Linked DNA regions of Homo sapiens: regions 2, 3 and 4 are each linked to region 1. The links are contacts of gene promoters, found by promoter capture Hi-C in blood cells and fetal thymus (Javierre and others, 2016). All regions are on one chromosome and are shown on one strand. The core of a region is centred on a gene start or on the middle of the fragment in contact, and the rest is flanking DNA. Distances in the headings are between cores, read along the strand shown.

The links. The method cuts DNA at HindIII sites, captures the fragments that hold promoters and counts their contacts. A CHiCAGO score of 5 or more calls a contact.
Region 2: a fragment that was not itself captured here is called in contact with the fragment with the promoter of TSPAN5 in region 1 in 1 of 17 cell types (total B cells); the score reaches 5.4 in total B cells.
Region 3: a contact is called between a fragment that was not itself captured here and the fragment with the promoter of TSPAN5 in region 1, in 1 of 17 cell types (total B cells). The highest score is 5.2, in total B cells.
Region 4: a fragment that was not itself captured here is called in contact with the fragment with the promoter of TSPAN5 in region 1 in 1 of 17 cell types (erythroblasts); the score reaches 5.5 in erythroblasts.

Annotation. Positions count from the first base shown.
Region 1 is chr4:98,657,218-98,660,266 of GRCh38, forward strand. TSPAN5 (tetraspanin 5) reads right to left here and starts at 1,394. Exons shown (of 8, transcript NM_005723.4): 1 at 929-1,394. The coding sequence starts at 1,009. It overlaps TSPAN5-DT (TSPAN5 divergent transcript), which reads left to right and starts at 1,685. Exons shown (of 3, transcript NR_148380.1): 1 at 1,685-1,805. It overlaps LOC112267901 (a long non-coding RNA gene), which reads left to right and starts at 1,506. Exons shown (of 3, transcript XR_939016.3): 1 at 1,506-1,655. RefSeq lists silencers at 959-1,118, 1,372-1,551. The HindIII fragment of the contact is 4,978 bases long and covers 1-2,034 here.
Region 2 is chr4:98,191,877-98,194,925 of GRCh38, forward strand. The region is part of intron 1 of LOC105377340 (a long non-coding RNA gene); the gene reads right to left. Among named protein-coding and RNA genes, the nearest start is that of STPG2, 50 kb to the left of the region's middle. The HindIII fragment of the contact is 1,609 bases long and covers 614-2,222 here.
Region 3 is chr4:98,209,462-98,212,510 of GRCh38, forward strand. No RefSeq gene overlaps it. Among named protein-coding and RNA genes, the nearest start is that of RAP1GDS1, 50 kb to the right of the region's middle. The HindIII fragment of the contact is 4,901 bases long and covers 1-3,049 here.
Region 4 is chr4:99,037,723-99,040,771 of GRCh38, forward strand. METAP1 (methionyl aminopeptidase 1) reads left to right here. Exons shown (of 11, transcript NM_015143.3): 5 at 1,652-1,743. Among named protein-coding and RNA genes, the nearest start is that of MIR3684, 42 kb to the left of the region's middle. The HindIII fragment of the contact is 4,344 bases long and covers 1-3,049 here.

The DNA.
Region 1 (3,049 bases), core at 144-2,643:
CAAACAAAAAGAGTAGGCGTCCCAGCCTAATTACAATAGGTTCCCAACACATTGCAGTCCCAAGCAGAGCATCATTTGAATCTTGTGTTAAAGCATTTGCTCTCTCGGTTCCCCAATAAAACATGCCTCGCACACCTTCTCCTTTGCATTTCTACAAAGGTTCCCCCAAACGGCCCGCTCTGTGTCACTCCTTTAAAAATGAGGACGTGGGGCAGGAACACACTGAAATATATGTTGACGGTGACTTATTATCCTGACGATGATATATACATACAAATAAATCCCTCTACCCCGCACCCCCACTGACCAGTCCATTACGCACAGGGAGCGCTTTCCAGCTGAAGAGGAGAGCGTGCAGGAAACGTTATTTACGTGCAATTACAGGACCATATACCACGGCATCTGCATCCTACACAAAGCCCGAGATGGTGCAAGAAGATACACGCTGAGCATGGCACAGACCAGCCGCGGCAACACGGAGCCAAGCCCTCGTCCAATCAGATCGTTGTTAGAAGGTGGACCTCAGGGTCGGCCGTGCCCGATTAGCCTTCCCTATTATGACACCACGCTCTGCCCAACATCTATATCCCACCGAGAGCAAATCCAATTCGTGTGGTTGCTCATTTCTCAAACTGCCGAACCCTTTCTTTTATCTGCATCCCTGCTATTCGTTCCTCAAAAAGCCACCAGAAGGCCTCGGTGCCCCCTTTCCGCCTCGATTTCTCTTTTCACCTCTTCCCATTCCTCGAAAGGATTAAATGTTTATCTCTCCAACGCGCAAGCTGGAAAGGCGGAAGGCGAATGCCTCTATGCTGCTCCGGCAAGCGCCTGCGGGGCTGCGAAAAGTAAAGGCAACGAACAACGTGGGGGAAATCGTCGCGAATCGATCGGCCACAATAGTTGGAATCCCAGGAGCGCTCCAACTTACCCAAAATATGACATTGAAGCCAAATATGAAGTATTTGATGCAACAACTGACTTCAGGACCCTTGTAGTGCTTCCCGGACATCCTCTGGGTTCATGAAGACACTTGCCCCGGCAGCCCGAGTTTGGAGCTCCGAAGCACCGTTGCTCGGAGCAGCCCGGCGGGGAGCAGGAGCTCAGGGACACCGCACGGGGCCGCGGCGCTGGCGGCCTGGGCTCAGCCGCGCGGGGACCGACCGGCGGAGAGCGGCTCCCGCACCTCCAGCCCCTCGCGCGCCGAGGCCGCCGGAGCCGGGGTGGCCGCGAGAAAGCAGGGAAGCCGCGCGCTGCAAGCTCAAGCCTCGCCGACGCTAGCCCCGAACACAAAGCGAGCGCCCGCGTCCGTGCGCCAGGCGGTCGGTCCGTCGGTTCGTCCCCGGGCTTCGGGCAAAGGCGGCCGCGGCAGATGCTGGTGGAGACGCCGCTCGCTTGCTCGCCCGCCCGTTCGCGCGCGCCCTCCCACCCCTCGCTCCGCCCGCCTCTCGCTCCGCCCGCCCGGCCGGCTGCTCCTCCGCCCGCGCCGCCCGCAGCTCCGCCCGCCGCCCAAGCCTTGGCTAGGCGCGCGCGCGCACGGGGTCGGGCGCTCCCGGGCGGCGGTGGCACCACGTAGCCGCCTCCTTCCACCGCTCGCTTTATCCCCGCCCCTTCTCGGGCCAACCCCAAGCGCCGCTGACCCCGAACGTCGCTGCGGGGTAGGTAGGGGGTGGGAGGGTGGAGGACCGCAGGCGAGAGGGAGAAGGAAGGGCGCCCGGGGAGCAGGCTGGCAGAGTGACCGGGATTGATGAGCGGCGCAGCTCTGGAGGGACGCGGGCGAGAGGGTCGCTCCTCGGGGAGAGGGCTGGGTGAGTGAGGACCTGCGAGCCACCCCCGACACCCCTTCCAGGGTAGCCACACTGGCGCCCCCTCCTCCACAACAGGCTTATGTGGCTAGAGAAGATGCGATGCCACTGGACAGGGAAGGAAAGTCGTCGTGGACTTCGCTGAATGGAAAAGGGGGTAGTTGGGGAAGGTGGAGAAAAGAGCCACGGGAAGTGGGAGGAAAGGATGAAGGGATGGGACGTTGAAAAGGAAAGCTTCCTGAATCCCTGTGTGACTCTAACCCAACCTCCCCACCTACCGGAGAAATGGGTTTTATCCTAGAAATGGGGACGAGGAAAAAGAGATGGCTCAAGGGAGTCCTGGCCCGGGATGCGATCCTCGCCCTAGGGTCTATTGCAACCACACAAACCCGGACAGCGCACGCTCCCCCCTACCCCGACAGAATAGTGCCTAAGAAACCTGCTTGCCTCCTAACTCTAGGAAGGAATCCACAACGGATTCCAGGGAGGTCTTCTGGGGAATCTGAATTGGGTTTTTGGATCACGAACCATTAAGCTTTTGAACTCTGGGGAAGAATAGAACAGGTGGCTGGAAATTGTTTTAGAACCCTACCTGAGCAGGTGTGCTCATTAGTTGCTTATCCGCCCTCCTCCTGGAGCACTTTCATAGGTGTTGGCAAAGCAGGTACCAGTATTTCACGGAAGGAGAAGGAAGAACCGCCCAGGACTGTGTATAAATGTCTATGGGAATATTTTTAAGGATTCAAAAGGCTAGAAGGAGGTGAGATCAAAAAATTTTTCCAGCACCACCCAGTGCAACCCGATCCTGGACACAGAAATCTAAAAGATGATACTTAAATACTTGAGTTTGAGAGCCTCTAGTTATAAGGTTTCCTACGTAACAACCTCTCACTTTTCTCAAAAACTGGCTAGTTGACAACCGGCAGTCAAGTTTTGGCTAGTCAAGAAGCTACTTTTTCCTGCAATAAACCACATTTAGAGATAGTACTGGGCTTCAGCAGGATTGAGGCTATATTGAGGTCGCAAGTATGAACGAGGTACCCACAGAGATGGGAGGGCCAGGAGATCCTACTCATTCAGTACCTCAGAAGCTATGACACGGGATAACAGTAGCTTCAGCCCTTTGGATGAAATAATCCTCACTCCCTCAAAAGTGCTCTCTACCCACTCAAAACACAGGCCATACTACCACCAATCTGGTAGACTTCAAAAGTAAGGTCTTTCAGCAGCAGATTTCCTTGTTAACA
Region 2 (3,049 bases), core at 168-2,667, 470 kb before region 1:
CTATGTGTTTGTTTGCCTGTTTCTTTTGTTGTTTGTTTGTTTTGATACAGAATCTCACTCTGTTGCTCAGTGGCACAATCTCAGCTCACTGCAACCTCTGCCTCCTGGGTTCAAGCGATTCTTCTGCCTCAGCCTCCTGAGTAGCTGGGATTACAGGTGCACACCACCATGCCCGGCCAATTTTGTATTTTTAGTAGAGGCGGGGTTTCGCCATGTTGGTCAGGCTGGTCTCGAACTCCTCACCTTGTGATCTGCCCGCCTTGGCCTCCCCAAGTGTTGGGATTACAGGCGTGAACCACTGTGCCCGGCCACCTGTTTCTTTTTATATATTTATTTATTTGAGACCACGGGCATGTGCCACCATACTCAGCTAATTTATTTTTTTCAGAGGTGGGGTCTTCCTATGTTGCCCATGCTGGTCTTGAACTCCTGGCCTCAAATGATCCTCCTGCCTCTGCTCCCCAAAGTGCTGGGGTTACAGGTATGAGGCATCATAACTGGCCGGTTTTTGTTTTTTTCTTGTGATGTGGTCATTTATTCTGTGTCCTGGTATGCCTACAATTTTCTACTAAATATTGGGCATTGTGTATGAAAAGTTGTAGTAATAACTTGAAGCTTTCAATGATGTTTTCTTTCTCTGGAGATTACTTTTTATTTTTCTGGTAGGCAGTCAAATAGAGCTAGATCACCTGAATATATTCTGTGATGGTACTGATTCAAAGCTAAGTTTCTTTTTTAAAAATTAAACTTAATTTAATTTAATTTTTTTGTAGAGACATGGTCTTGATATGTTGCCCAGGCTGGTCTCAAGCTCCTGGCCTCAGGCAATCCTCCCACCTCTACATCCCAAAGTGCTGGGATTACAGGCATGAGCCACCATGCCCAGCCTAACAGCTGAGTTTTAGTCTTTGCAATGGCTCTGTATTTTCAGTTTACACCACTCCTAGGATTATCCTTCCATAGGTTTCACTAAAAAATCTGGAGTGTTTACAAGAGTCATTTGCCTTGGATGGATGCTGAACTCCAAATTTTGTCTCCCCAGTATCATAAGACTGATAAAAATTCTGCTTAATGAATCTCTTGGTCAATGCTTTCTGTTTGATTTCTTTTTTTTCTTTCTTTCTTTTTGAGACAGAGTTTCACTCTTGTTGCCCAGGCTGCAGTGTAATGACATGATCTCGGCTCACTGCAACCTCCACCTCCAGGGTTCAAGTGATTCTCCTGCCTCAGCTTCCTGAGTAGCTGGGATTACAGGCATGCGCCACCATGCCCAGCTAATTTTGTATTTTTAGTAGAGATGGGGTTTCTCCATGTTGGTCAGGCTGGTCTTGACTCCTGACCTCAGGTGATCCGCCTGCCTTGGCCTCCCAAAGGGCTAGGATTACATGCGTAAGCCACCGTGCCTGGCTTTCTGTTTAATTTCTAATCCCCTCATTCTATACCACCCACAATCAGCAAATTCCTTGAGGGGATAAATAACAAAGACTGTTAGGATCATCTCAATTTCTGTGTCTTCTTTCCAAGATCTTGGTTGATGGGTTCCTAGTTCCCAGTTGCCTAGTTCTCTGATATTTTCAAACCAAATTTTTTTATTTCATTCAGTTTCTTTTAAAGCTGTTGTTGACATTGGGGGTAGGTCTGATAAAAGCTAGTCTATTTGCTTAAAAGAGAATTACCAAGACGATATCAAGATACCTAGTGTTAGAAATAAATGCTTGTTCCTTGGTGCCAAAAAGAAGAACTAGCGCTCAAAGAATTTTCTCAGCAAGGCAATTTTACTTTCTGCAGAAAGGGTGCTTTTTGGAAGCCTGATTGTCACGAGAGCACCTTGAACAAAGAAAAGCAGAGGTTTTTATTCCTGACGCATTGGGTCCTTACTGCTGTGTCCTATCTCCATTGGCTGGAGCTGGACTGCACAATCTAGACTGATCCCGATTAGCTAAAAACTTAAAACTTTCCTAAACAGGCAAATGTGCGACAGAGAACAAGGAAAGGAAGGGGGTTGTTTATGGGAAACTAGGAGAACAATAACATTTCCAAATAAGGAAGGGGCGTAGGCTGTAAGCCAGGAAATGCCTGGGCATGTTCAGATACGTCTGAGCAGGTTATAGGCCAGAATAAATAACTTGGTTGAAGTACAAGGACATAGAATGTACTTATTCCCTTACTATATGTAACAGCTACACAGGGCTTAGCAAAGAGTTATTAGCAAAAAGCAAGGAAGCTTGAAGGAAGTTAGTTTTTAAAAGAAACTATTATTTCTAACACTTATTTATTCTTTAACGAAAAGGGAAACTTTGAAGAGGAACTTTTTACTTTTCACAACAGTGACAGAGCCTTCTGGGTATAATTGTTCCTAATTGTGCAGTTTATGCAAATAGAGATGACAAAAAATATTTTATTGGCCACTTTAGGACAAATTGCTAAAGAGACCACAAAACACATTGCAGCACAACAAAAGTCTCTAAATTCCTTAGCTTTAATGTTTTAGCAAAATGTATATGTTTTATATAGCTAATTGCTACAAATCTAACTAAAACCAAGATTACAGTAGCTCAATGCATAGACTTTATAGATAAGTCAACTTTGTAATCCTGCTTTTGGGTTTAGTTTTTGACTCCTGTGTTGCTTAAAAGGTTTTAAGGGTTCATGAGTGCCTGTCCACCTCCATTCCCTTCTAGCCTAGAATGTCTAATTTGCTGTAAATCTTTTAGCTCTAAGTCCCTTGAACTTCCAGGCCACTGAGGGACAGACTGGAACCAGGATAGGTAGCCACACCACCCTGGCAACAATATGGGAAAAAATAAATTTTAGCTGTAGATGCTGCCTCTAGCAAATCTCAGACAAAGGGGGAAAATGAGAAATAAAAATAAAATTCTAACCCCCCAACAGACTGAACAGACGATCTCTTGGCCAAGAAGACACCAGAGTAACCTTGAAAACTGAGTTCTCAGCCATGATAGTATTGGAGGTCAGACACACCTCCTTATACCTTATCTCCCTCACTAACCACCATTAGCCTTTTCTTCCCTAAGGGGTAAACAAAAAC
Region 3 (3,049 bases), core at 276-2,775, 450 kb before region 1:
TGCTCAATAACTGCATTACATCCAATTTAGAATTGGTGGTAGTTGTCACGTTTTTGTTTTTGTTTTTGTGTTTGTTTTTGTTTTTGTTTTTGAGACAGGGTCTCTTTCTCTCACCCAGGCTGGAGTACAGTAGTACAAACATAGCTAATTGTAGCCTTGACGTCCTGGGCTCAAGTGATCCTCCTGCCTCAGCCTCCTGTGTAGCTGGGATTACAGGTGCATGCCACCATGTCTGGCTAATTTTTTAAATTTTTTTGTAGAGACAGGGTCTCACTTTGTTGCCCAGGCTGGTCTTGAACTCCTGAGCTCAAGAGATCCTCCCACCTCAGCCCTAAAGTGCTAGGATTACAGGTGTTAGCCACTGTGCCAGGCCATGTTTTTGTTGTGGAATGGTAATATTATTATGGATTTTATATGCTTTAAGGCTGTGTGAGCAGATGCACGCTTAGTTCAGATTTACGCCATATAACATGCATTATTGCAAAATAGTAGCTGAAGTTGGTAATTTTTTTCTTACTGGTCTTCAATGGGCCCATTTTTGGTGCAACCCTGGTCAGAGAATATATGGGAATGTTGTTTCGCATAGACTTGGGGTCATATGTAGTTTGCAAGGGAGAGTTTCTTATTTGTCTCTTACCCACCCCTCATTCCCGTGGTTGGTTTTCTTTCACCATTTTTATACACTACTTTCCTGACCATTACTTCCACCTCCTAAGTCTAGCGTGAGTACTTTTCATCTCTGCTACTGTGATAGGTTACCCTGAGTTGTTAACATGTAGCCAATAATAAATGATGACATTCCCGACATTTTCACAAGGAATAAAACAATGTATATAGGTGTACATGTCAATTTTTGATGTCCAAACTCATTTCATGCTTTTTCTAACCTTTATTTTTTGCCATTATTTCTAACATCTATTTCTGGGCAAAGTTTTCTAGATGAAAACTTCCTGATTTGTTGACATTTTCTGGTTGAATAACTGCCAGATTCTCATTTGGCCTTTATGCTTCATTCAGCTCCAAGTGGATAAACACTAACAAGGAAAGAAAACAGATATTCAGAACCAGCCTAACTAACATACGGGTTTTTTTTTTCCTACTCTGCCAATGTCACTAGTATTATTGCAGCTTCAATTAATAAATGTGGATTGTTGCAGCCAAAACACAATTATTATTTTTCCAGCAATTGTATTAAAACAGTATTAAAATGATTATTCAGGTACCCAACTCTTTAAGGACAGATGGGATTCTATATAACTGTCTGAAAAGCTAATTTGGCAAAATGATATTTGTTATTTTAATTACAGAATTGGAGAGGTATTACCATGGAAAACAAATTCTCCATTTGGCTGAGTCCAGAGCTTTCAAGAAGGAAAAGATTGCTATGGTGATCATTATTGTGGTTTGCTGGCTATCGTCAGATAATAGCATTCCAGATGAGCAAGGCACCTAGTGATCAGCAATTTTTGCCTTCGGTTTTTGAACATTTGGGCAGACCTTAGCAATGCCTTCTCTACTCCATGATCTGCTCTTTCATTATTTCTTTCTATTGCAGAATCCTGTTTTGCCTGAGTATGTCCAGGTTCTTCACAGAATTCTCCTACCTTTTATACTTTTTAAATGTTAAAAATTAAAAATATTAAAAAATAATAAATAAAATAAAATATGTTAATGGACCTGAACAGATAGGTGACTAATACATGTTGTATTCCTCCAGCAAATATCTTAACTTCAGATAATGTGTTAGCTCCCTATTTTGTCAATTTTGTAAGTGTGAAGTTTCATTTATTAAGTAATGAATGATATCTACTATGAGTAACATTTCATATATAATAAACCTCACTATTAATATAGAAAGTATGGATTATTAGCAACAGTATATTAATTAATACTCAATTAGCCTGGAGTCTCTCTGAGCCTACTCTGGCTCAGGATGCTGCCTGATAAAAAAAAAAAAAAGAAAGAAAAAACTTCAGCTAGAAGGACTGCAAATATTTTTTAATGTGAAGACCTGTTTTCATCTGAGATGTAAAAGGAAAAGACTGAAATTTTACTGGTTAGTATAATGATCATTGGAAAGTGACAATAATGCTTTCAAAATTATGATTAGATGAGAAATCAAAATGTTTTTAATGTTTTTAAAATAAGGGTTTTTTTTAGACGGGCTCTCACTCTGTTGCCCAAGCTGAAGTGCAGTGGCATGATCATGGCTCACTGCAACCTCAACTTTCCGGGCTCAGGTGATCATCCTACCTCAGCCTCCCTAGTAGCTGGGGCTACAGGTATGTGCCATCACACCGGGCTAATTTTTGTGGGTTTTTTTGTTTTGTTTTGTTTTGTTTTTGAGACGGAGTCTCTCACTGTCACTCGGGCTGGAGTGCAATGGTGCGATCTCGGCTCACTACAACCTCTGCCTCCCAGGTTCAAGCAATTCTCCTTGCCTCAGCCTCCCAAGTAGCTGGGTTTACAGGCGTCCACCACCACGCCCAGCTAATTTTTTTGTATTTTTAGTAGAGACGGGGTTTCACTATGTTGGCCAGGCTGGTCTCGAACTCCTGACCTTGTGATCTGTCTGCCTCAGCCTCCCAAAGTGCTGGGATTACAGGTGTGAGCCACTGCACCCAGCCAATTTTTGTATTTTTTTTTTTAGATGGGGTTTTACCATGTTGGTTAGCCTGGTCTTGAACTCCTGGATTGAAGCAATCCTCCCACCTCACCCTCCCAAAGTGCTAGGATTACAGGTATGAGCCATCACACCTGGCCTAAAAATAAGTTCTTGAAGTTAAGCTACAATATGCAATTTGGATGGGAAGTTTCTTGAAATCTAATTTTTTTTTTTTTTTTTGAGACGGAGTCTGGCTCTGTCGCCCAGGCTGGAGTGCAGTGGCGCGATCTCGGCTCACCGCAAGCTCCACCTCCCAGGTTCACGCCATTCTCTGCCTCAGCCTCCTGAGTAGCTGGGACTAGGCGCCTGCCACCACACCCAGCTAATTTTTTGTATTTTTAGTAGAGACGGGGTTTCTCCGTGTTAGCCAGGACGGTCTTGATC
Region 4 (3,049 bases), core at 191-2,690, 380 kb after region 1:
AATATTTGGTAGGCCTTGTTGCCCCTACCTTTCCTCTTTTTCAGAATTTTCCTGGCTATTCTTGCATGTTTGTTTTTCCATGTGAAATTTAGAATCAGCTTGTCTGGTTCTCAAAATTATCCTGTTGACATTTTTTTATTGGGATAGTATTAAATTTATAGATTAATTTTGGAAGAATTGACATCTTTACAATATTGAGTCTTCCTGTCCAGGAACAGGGTATGTTTTTAAAGTTTTATTTGACTCCTTTTATGTCTTTCAGTGGTGTTTTCAGATTTTCTTCATGTAGGGATTTTATTGTTAAATTTATTCCTGGGTACTTCATCTTTTTAGTTGTTTTTGTACATAATAGCTTCTGTATTTTTTAGCTGATTATTTGTATGTGGGAAAGTTATTGATTTTGATAAATTTATCTTAAACAATATGCCAACTTGCTGAATTTGTATTTATGGTCATTTACCAGGTGATTCTTCTGTTCTAGAGATACATAATCACATCTGAAATTGATAAGAATTTTGTCCTTTCTTTTCTAGTTTTATATGTTTTATTTCTTTCTCTTGTTTAATTGCATCTGCTAGTATTGCCAGGACAGTGTTAAATAATAGTGCCGATAGTGGGCATTCTGTAATGTTGGTTCTCAGTTTGAGATTTATATTTATCATGTCAAGGTGGTAGCTGGCCATGTTATCAGAATTAACTTTCCTTCTAGATGATTATTTACTTTTACTTTATTTATGAATGATGAATTGGATGAATAGATTTGTCAGTATTGAACTATCCTTGCCTTCTGGTATGAATCTCACTTGCATCCTGATGTATTAAGTTTTTTTGGATTCTGTTTGTTAATATTTTTATTTGGAATTTTTCCATTAGTACTTGTAAATAAGATTAGTTGACATTATTTTTGTTAGATTTTGAGTTAATTGCTATCCTGGCTTTATTACTTTTCATGTATGTAAAACTTGAAGCTAACAAATTTTATTAGTGAAGATTTTTAGGGCAATATTTTTAAAACTTTTTTGAGTATGACTCAGAAATGGCTTTTATAACGTGATCTTTGTATGTGTATATAAATAAAGATTTCATGGCAGCACTTATTCCTACTCCGTATAATACGAGTATAATACTTTGTTATGCCATTTTAATATTTTCTGTCCCATTTATTTACTTTTAAAAAATGTTAAGTGTAGCCTAATAAAAGGTCACAAACTGGAGATTGAAAAACACTTAACTTTGGTTCCTGTTTCAGAAAATAGTGTAATTAATTCATCAGTTGTTGATGTATAATTGCTTCATGAGATGATTATGAAAGTAATTTGTAAATTCTGTGGTACTTTTCAAATGTATATCATTTACTGAGTCTGATTATCACACGGCCTGGCATATAATAAGTACTCTATAAGTATTGGCTGATTTCTAATAGGTCTGAAAATTTATCTTTTAGAATTTTTTCTTCAGTTGGTTTAGCGAGTTTCCCTTTGATGTTGAAAATGTTTTTTTTTAAAAATCTAACCTAGACCATCCCAAATCATGAATTACTGTTGTGTGAAACAGTGAGACTACTGTTTTTATGCCACAGGTTTATAATTATGCAAATAAATACTACATCTTTGCATTCATTTTGGTTTTACTTACCGAATTTTCATTCCAGGAATGTCTGAATCTGAACAGGCTCTTAAAGGTACTTCTCAGATTAAATTACTCTCATCTGAAGATATAGAAGGGATGCGACTTGTATGTAGGGTAAGAGTGATTTTTTCTCCATGGGGTAGGAAATGTTTAAGCAGTACTTAGACATGAAGTCAGTGGTTTGCTGATTTATAAAGATAGCAAATGTTATATTGTTAGACTGACCAGCCATGCTTTTTTTTTTTTTTTAACTTTTTTTTGAGACAGAGTTTCACTCTGTCGCCCAGGCTGGAGTGCAGTGGCGTGATCTCTGCTCACTGCAACCTCCACCTTCTGTTTTCAAGCGATTCTTCTGCCTCAGCCTCCTGAGTAGCTGGGATTACAGGTGCCCACCACCACACCTGGCTAATTTTTGTATTTTTAGTAGAGATGGGGTTTCACCATGTTGCCCAGGCTGGTCTCGAACTCCTGACCTCGTGATCTGCCCACCTTGGCCTCCCAAAATGCTGGGATTACAGGCGTGAGCCACCACACCTGGCCTTTTTTTGTATTTTTAGTAGATACAGGGTTTCACCATGTTGGCCAGGCTGGTCTCTAACTCCTGACGTAAGGTGATCTGCCCGCCTCGGCCTCCCACAGTGCTGGGATTACAGGCGTGAGCCATTGTGCCCGGTTTAGCCATGCTTTTCATTAAACTATTGTTAGTATATAATTTTAGTCAACAGTTTTCTTCTTAAAAGCCTATTTCAGAATTAATCTGGTGGATAGTCTATATTTAGATGACAATCCTTTTCATTTATTTAATGATATTTAAAAACATTTTGTCATTTTATTTTCACAAGTCATCATAACATAGGACAGAGTTTAAGGCTCAGAGGGTTATGCTGTAGGCCTTTTTGTGAAATACCTATGATGAGTGGTAGTAGTGGTTGGTACTCATTAGGTGAAATCACATATTTATTCTGAAGGAAAATATAATACATTGATATTATTCATTTAAGTAAGATTCTTAAGGTTTCTATTCAGTGCTTTAAAAGTGATTTGATTCTAATTTTGTTTGATATCCTGGAGAACTTTCTCTTCCTATGACTTGCTGTGATTCTTTGAGGAATTCATTCATCTATTTTTTTTTTTTTGAGACAGGGTCTTGCTATCACTCAGGCTAGAGTACAGTGGCACAATCATAGATCATATAGATCATAGCTCATAGCTTACTGTAACTCCAAACTCCTGGGCTCAAGCTATCCTTCCACCTCAGCCTCCTGAGTAGCTGGGATCACAGGCATGTGCCACTACACCTGACTACTTTTTTTTTTTTTTTTTTTAAGAGACAGGATCTCACTATGTTGCCCAGGCTCATCTGTTCTTTTTTCTTTTCCTCTACTTTTCCCCATTATAGAAATGAGAGAAGACTACCTCT